Linked DNA regions of Homo sapiens: region 1 is linked to region 2. The links are contacts of gene promoters, found by promoter capture Hi-C in human tissues and cell types (Jung and others, 2019). All regions are on one chromosome and are shown on one strand. Each heading gives the region's core, a stretch centred on a gene start or on the middle of the fragment in contact. The rest is flanking DNA. Distances are from core to core; before and after follow the strand shown.

Region 1 (4,633 bases), core at 1,721-4,220, 190 kb after region 2:
TGAGGAGCTTGGCCTAAGCCTGGCTGCAGGTCGGCATATTCTTACAGGTGCTCTCATTCACAGAGGGAGGGCATTGGTAGGGGATGTCCAGGCCTTCTCTTTCTGCATTGCTTTGTTATAATCCACAAGTTGCAGAACAGGTGTTGCTTTGTTAGATTTTACCAGGAAGAGTTGAAGATCTCGAATCCGCTACTCCATATCTAACAAGGACCCCCGTAAGTGACAAAGGACCCCAGTAGGTGACAAAGGAGGTCTAGTTACCCTGCCTGATGAGAAGAGTTTTAAAATGTTGCTATCACAGGATACACATTCAGTTTGAGTCAAACAGATTATTGTTCTAGAGTATTTTCATAGAATAGAAATTCAAAGGCCAGGTGTAGTGGCTCATGCCTATAATCCCAGCACATTGGGAGGCCAGGGCAGGAGGATCCCTTGAGCCCAAGAGTTTGAGACCAGCCTGGGCAATATAGTGAGATATTGTCTCTACCAAAATTCAAAAAAAATTAGCCAGGCGTGGTGGCGCACACCTGTAGTCCTAGCTACTTGGGAGGCTGAGGTGGGAGGATTGCTTGATCTCAGGAAGTTGAAGCTGCAGTAAGCTCTGATCATGCCACTGCATTCCAACCTGGACAACAGAGCTATACTCTGTCTCAAAAAAAAAAAAAAAAAAAAGGGAAAAAAGAAAGAAATGTGAAATCCAAGTTGTTAAATAAACAGTAAAAAAACAAAATTTGCTATATTTCTTTGGAGGTTTCTTGGAGCTCTTCCAAAACATTTTCTTTTGAGGATTCTCCTTTGGGTCTTTCAAACACCAAGAGCATATTAAATTCCACTCTCCTCCTACCCTAATTGCAGGACTTAATAAATCCTTTCTTAGCTTCCTCCCTGAGGAAAAGAACGGGGACTCCTTTCCCAGGATTCGTGCAAAAAGAGAGAGAAAGAGTGAGAAAAAGAGAAAGAAATGGGGCGCTCCTTCTTGCAGTCTAGGAATGGGCGTGGCAAAGGCAAGGGTGGATGAGTGCCTCAAATTTACTGAAATTTGACTTTCTATTTCACAGTCAGTGTGCACGGCTCTCCCACTGTGGTCTTTGACTATTTCCACTGCTCCCATTTTAAACAGGACAATTAGGAACTAACAGAAGTCCCAGAACTTGATAGGAGGGACAGGCTGATTTTAAAAAGCAGTGCTTGGAGAAAACCAAATAAATGACTTCAAAATGGAAGCTCTGGATTTATTTGAGTCTTTGTTTTCAAACTATTTCCTTGTGTGCATGCGTGTGTGTCTCTTTCTTAAAAAAGATTTCCAGACATGGAAAATGAAAAAGGTTTTGAGTAGGCTAAATGAAAACTAATTTACAGAATTGCAAAATAGCTTGGGAAATCATATTCATTGGAATATGATTGAATATGATTTCAGGTTGAAGGGCCATGTAGGGCAATCTTTCTGATGAAAGGTATCCTTTTAAATTTCAAAGGGATAGAAACTAAACGGAAAAAGGCACCTCAAATCCTTTTTAGAATGAGGCAGAGTAAACAAAAAGATGAATAATCCTAAACAGAAAGATGAGAATGAAAATGTGATGAATGTCTCTTATTGAATCTGTTTCCTTTAGGACACAGAATCTAGGATGAAGGAACAGACCCCTTCCAGCCCAAGGATCTCAAGCAGCCAATTCTGAGTCTTTTTTTCATATTTGAAAGAATGATAGTAGACAGCCGACTTCCATTGACATAGAATCTGTGGTGTGTCACCACCAAGGAAGTCTATTTTTTCCCCAAAAGGCATGGGGAGTTTCCTTGAGATCTGGGCCAAATCTGGCACAGCCTCTAGGGTTTCCCGGGGTTCTTCCCATGAGCTTTGGAAATGCTAACTTGGGTTAGGGTTCTGGTTCTATGTTGTTTTTATCTATGTAGCTTTGAACAATCACTTTGCCTTGCTGGGGTTTCAATTTCTCAGCTATAAAATGGAGGGAAATCAGCCATCGGATGGTTGGGAGGAGGGCGTGAAATCCCACCCACAAGACAGAAGCCCAGGAAACGTTACCAGCACTCTCCTCTCTCCTTCCTCCGGGAGGGTGGTGTCGGGGAATGAGCGCGGATGGCTGCCTCATTCCCTCTTGTTGAAGAGGGCGGGTGGTCATCTGGTGAGATGGTGTTTGACATCTTTTAATAATCTAAATGAAAAAGTTCTCCAAAATTTGCTGCCAGGGAATTTCGTTTTTTTATAAATGGAGACTCCAGGACATGACAAACAATAGAAGAGAGTTAATTGCAAACGAAAATATCAGCAAATATTCAACAGCTGGGCTAGGAGCCCACGAGCCACAAGACCTGCTTCCCGCATGATGGCAGGAAAGTGTGTGGGGCCAAAGGCGTTTTTCCCACCTGGGAATTCAGCTCAGTCAAACCATATGGGTTCTGAATCATCAGTGGAGCCTGGATAACGCATTGTCCTACAGGCATTATCTCCCGTCCTTTTCAGAGCTGGAAGGGCTCCTTTCCTTCTCTTCCCTCCCCTCCTCTTCCCTCAATATCTGGATATATTCTGGATAAAATAATTCCTGTGCACAGTGTATTTATCCCATTACTTTGTGTTCCAATGGGAAGTATCTCCACTGAGGGGGCTACTCCTCCAAAGATTCACATCTTGAAAATAAAAATCTTTACATATGATTTTCAATGAACTAAAAGTTCATTTTACTCAGAATGGTTGAAGTAAGTGAGTGATGTCTTAGACTTCCCGGATTTTATTTTGTAACTATTTAGATTGTATTGAGCACTCTGGAAGATGAGAAATGTAATTTTGGAATTGCTCCAGAGTGAGCCCACTCAATGCTTTATATGTGACAGAATCAGTGGATTCAAAGGCTTTCACTGTGTGAGGTATGGGAATGATTAAGAAAACCATTAGCAAAACCTGCTCAAGGCATAATTCACTTGTGCTCTTTGTCAATGCTCCCTGCACAGGTGTCTGCAGCTCTTCCCATCCCAGACTCAACAGTGAGGAGACAGCTCTCATCTTATCATGTCCTATTTTTTCCACCTGGATTACAAAGCCGAATGCTTTACAAAGAGCCTCTATAATACTCTTGTGTTCTCATTCACAAACAAAAATACCACTTAAAATCATGCCTCTTGAACATGGATTAAACATTTAAAGTAATCGAACTGGATCTTCCAGAAGATTTGCATTAAAATTTTTAATTGAAGCAGTGATGCTTAAACTTTTGGGGGGTGAGGAGTGGCACAACTGCCTTTTAGAATCACATACAAACATGGACCCTTATCTCCAGAAAAACCCTCATCCATAGATGCAATTTTGCACTCAACTGTGGGAGGATCATAGACTCTTTGAATCTGTTGATCCCGTATTAAAACATTGATCTGGACCAGTTACAATAATACAGGTTGTTTTGGAAAGAACAGGCCATTTTCTTAGAAAGAATCTAGCAGGAAGCTTACCTTTGCTAAAAAAAAATTGACGCTCAAGCTTGATAGAACGAATCAAGAATAGCACATATAAAATGTACTTTTATATTATTCTGAAGTGTATATCATTATTTAATTGAGGTCATACAAAAAATTAGATATTGCAATTGCTTTTTTTTTTTATTTGAAGAAACACTCAGGAATGGGTCTAACAGACTGTAGGGAAGAAAGGTAGAGCTTGGTGGAAAAGTCTGGAAGGTTCCCAGGGTTGCATGGGCTTGAGGGATTCCTAGAGAGTGAAGGGGCAAAGTTGGGGCTGTGGCACGGTGGGGGTAGGGTCAACCTAAGTGGAGGGAGGAGAACAGGCAGTCCAGCCTGTCGGGGGTCCCTGAGCCCTGCTGTGCTGCGACCGGGCTAAAGCTTGGGAGCATTATCAAACCACAGCACAAGCACTGGAGACTGCTCTTCTACATTGTGTTAACATATATCCATGTCCAAAAGGCAGTGACCATTGCAAGGGAAAAAAAATCGGGCTGAGCTTTTGCAATACTGCCGCTATCACCACTCATTGCTGTCACTTTGTTGCAGAAAAATATCTGTTCTGTTGATAACTGGCCTCCTGAGCATCATTAGAACAGCATTCCTTTCTCACTGTTGATGCATTTCCAAGAGACTGCTGTATTGACAGGTGGTTCTATTTTAGCTGCTGAGATCATGGCTTCAAGTTCTCAGAATCTGAATCACAGGGTACATTTGTTTCATCACAGGTGGTACTTTTTGTTGACTTTCTTTGGAAATCCAAAGCCACATGGGTCCTGGTGTTCATTCCCTTGTTTGTGGCTTCATCTGTCTCCATCTCACCAATTTTTGGCGGGTCAGGCCTAGGGCCCACACTGTGTTCCGTCTTCCTCATAGCTGGGCCGCAAGATTTGGACTCCAGCTTCTCCCTCTGGGCCTGACCTCAGGCAGGAGGAATTTCACGGCAAATCCACGGGACTGAGCTTCAGGTTTCCTTTGCACCCACTTAGCTCCTGTCCTTGACTGGCAGCCTCAATCACTCTCTGTGGCTCTCCCTGTACCTTTGCTAAGTGGTCCATCTGGACACTAGTCTGCTGCTCCATTCATGGCAAAGTTACATCACTCATCAGCCGGACAGACTCTCCTCTGCTATCAATCTTCAGGTGGCAAGGCTGAGAACATTAGA
Region 2 (2,755 bases), core at 1-2,500:
TCGAGCCACCGCGCTGGCCTCTTTTTGCATTCTTGCTATAAAATTGGTATTTGTATCTTCCTCCCATTCTGCGCTCCCCCAACCCTGCAGGAAGGTGGATTCTTCAAGGGAACTGGAGAGAAGAGAAGCACATTCATGTATTTCCACATTCAGCCTCCATCTCACGAGTTACACCATTCCCAGCACGTCACCACCCCCAGACCTTTGGTTACCAGCCTGGGGGCAGAGGATAAGGACGTCATTCAAAAATAGAGAGATTCTCAAGCCTCCAGAGTGCGGGGGCCCAGCCGAGCATGCTGGCGGCTTCCAGGGAGGTGGCCACGCCCCAGGGGAAGTGGTTGCATGGAGGAAGAATCTCAGAGGAGGCTTGGACGTGGTAGAGCAACGCTAGTCCTGTGTTAGGACTGGCTAGTCCGTCCTGCAGGGATGAGGGGCAGAGCCTCAGCAGAAGTCCAGGCCAGTGTCCCCCCTCCAGCATAAGAGCCCCCCACTCCCACAGGGCGGAGGAACCACTGTGGTGGCGGAGCTTATTTCCCAGCAGCCCCGCGGGATGAGACCCAAACGAGAAGTTAGGGTGAGTTTGGAGGACATAAAGTGAGCTGGCTTCCCGTATACTGGCTGTGTGGAGTAATGTTCACGGCAACAGATTTCCATCTCCTCAGCCTCAGGCCCAACCCTGCTACCCCAGCCATACTCAGAGGCTCTGGAAATCTTACCTGGAGGAGACTCTTCTGTTACCACCAAGCCAGGAAGTTTCATGGCTTGGGAAGACCAAGAGGAAGTCCACCTCCCCCTCTCCTGCACCTGGAGTCTCCCATGTGCACGGAGGCCACGCCCCCACCCCGCCCTCAGGTGGCATCAGCCCAGGATCTGACCCTGGACTGGCTCACACTCAGTTGCCTCTGGCCAGTGCAGGGCTCAGCCAGGGATGGCTTCTAGCTGACAGTGGGAGGAATTAATTCATCTGACCGGAATATTCTTTTCTCTTCTGGGCTGTTGGTTTTTCAAGTGCAACAAAGATTCCATACAGCTCCAAGGAAGGAGCCAAGAAAAACATTCTGTGCCAAAGTGAGATCCTGGAAGTGAAACCCCGGAATAAAGCTGAAAAACGGGCTCCAGTTGGGTGCCAGGAAATGCAGGACTGGAATGTGACTTGACTTCCGGCAGCGCGCAGGTGCTCCCGGGTCACCTGCTTTGAGGTCCAGCCTCCTGCCCTGCCTCAGGTGACCACATGACCACTGTGGACTTTGCCCTGAAACCTTCTGGGAGGAGAAGAGGCCTGACCTTGGCGCTGGGGTCCAGTGGGCATTGCTCTGGTCCGAGGCTGCTGCTCTTGACCTCTGCTCTGCGGCTGTTTTCCATTGGAGTAGAGGCTCCTCCTGTCCTGTCCTGCCTGTGGAGGGAAGCAAACCTTCCCCTGGACCAGAGAGAGGAGAAAGCGGAGACAGGTAGCAACGCTGTGGACTGGTGATGACAGGCTCTTCAGCTCCCTGCAAGTGACCGGGCCTGGGGAACAGGTGAGTCATTGTTTAAACCTCTGTGCCCTTTGTGGAGTGTCTGCCTGTGTGTGTGTGTGTCTCTGCTTCTCTGTGTGTGAGTCTCTGTGTGTCTGTGTGTGTGCTCACGTGTTTGTACCCATGTCTGTATTTGTTTGTGTCTGTGCATGTGCCCATGTGTGTATAATCAAAGGACAAAGCTGGGGCGGAGACTTCCTAGTTCAGATTTCTGATGGCTCACTAAGTCGGATTCCCAGAAGGAGATTCTTATTTGCATTTTTCTTCGGGAAAGTTCCGGTTTTAAGGTCTTGAAAAAAAAAAACACAAAAAACTTCTGGTAATGAGAAGAACTCTTAAAGAAATCCATTTCAAATGACATCAACATTCCCAATTTAATACCCAGTGATATCTAGGAAGCTTGTCAGGTTTTCTTGTAAACTCCTTTTTACAATCTACATTGTGTTTTCTGTATCAGATGGCTGTATTCTGAATGCAATGTACAGGTGTACCTCTCGTAATCTCAATATTCTTCACAGGCCCCAGGCAAGGGTGACACAGGATCACAGTTGCCGATAGACTCATCAATCAGACCCTTCCCTGGAATGGCCCCTTCCCCGCAAAAAAGACTAATGTGGGATTTGCTCTCCGTTTTTTTTCCCTTTAGTGGAAGGGAGGTGCAAGAGATTAAAAAGCCCCAAGTTAAGATTACTAGAGAAGCGCCAGTCTTGAATATGGTGTTCCTGAAAACATCTTTGTCTTCAACAACCTAATAACATCTTTCACTACTAATAACCCCATCTTGATTAAATTCTGGAGGTGGGGGTCAGGTGCCACACTTTTAATTTTCTCTTTGGACAGAAGGCTCCAACCTCTCATTATTGAAAGCTTACAACACTCAATCACACAAAAAGTTATATAAGAAAATGTTTACTGCAGTCTTATTACAGAGAAAAAATTAAAACTAAGTAAAAATCCAGTATTAGGAAAATGGTTCAGCAAGTTGAGATAGTTGTAGAAATGTTATATGTCCATTAAACATGATTTTGAAGCAATGTGTGAGACTGCCTTTGGTATTAAGTATTTCTTACCCATCGGATAATAATTTTATGTTAAAACTATGGGTTTTGGTTTGTTTTTAGGAGTCATAGAAAAAAACTAGAAGTAGGCAAAAATACCATTTGTGGTTGTATTACGGGGGTGGAGTTATGGGTAGCTGCTTCTTTTATATTGACACTTGTATGTTTATAGTAAAATAACCT

Evidence for each region. Contacts are between HindIII fragments. The study calls those that stand out against the background at their distance.
Region 1: a fragment that was not itself captured here is called in contact with the fragment with the promoter of RAB17 in region 2 in 2 of the 25 tissues and cell types used here (IMR-90 fibroblasts and aorta).

The regions. Positions count from the first base shown.
Region 1 is chr2:237,402,947-237,407,579 of GRCh38, reverse strand. The region is part of intron 1 of COL6A3 (collagen type VI alpha 3 chain); the gene reads left to right. Among named protein-coding and RNA genes, the nearest start is that of COL6A3, 8.9 kb to the left of the region's middle. The HindIII fragment of the contact is 6,379 bases long and covers 1-4,633 here.
Region 2 is chr2:237,589,229-237,591,983 of GRCh38, reverse strand. RAB17 (RAB17, member RAS oncogene family) reads left to right here and starts at 1,250. Exons shown (of 6, transcript NM_022449.4): 1 at 1,250-1,517. It overlaps RAB17-DT (RAB17 divergent transcript), which reads right to left and starts at 824. Exons shown (of 3, transcript NR_187201.1): 1 at 717-824; 2 at 1-112. The HindIII fragment of the contact is 5,809 bases long and covers 1-2,147 here.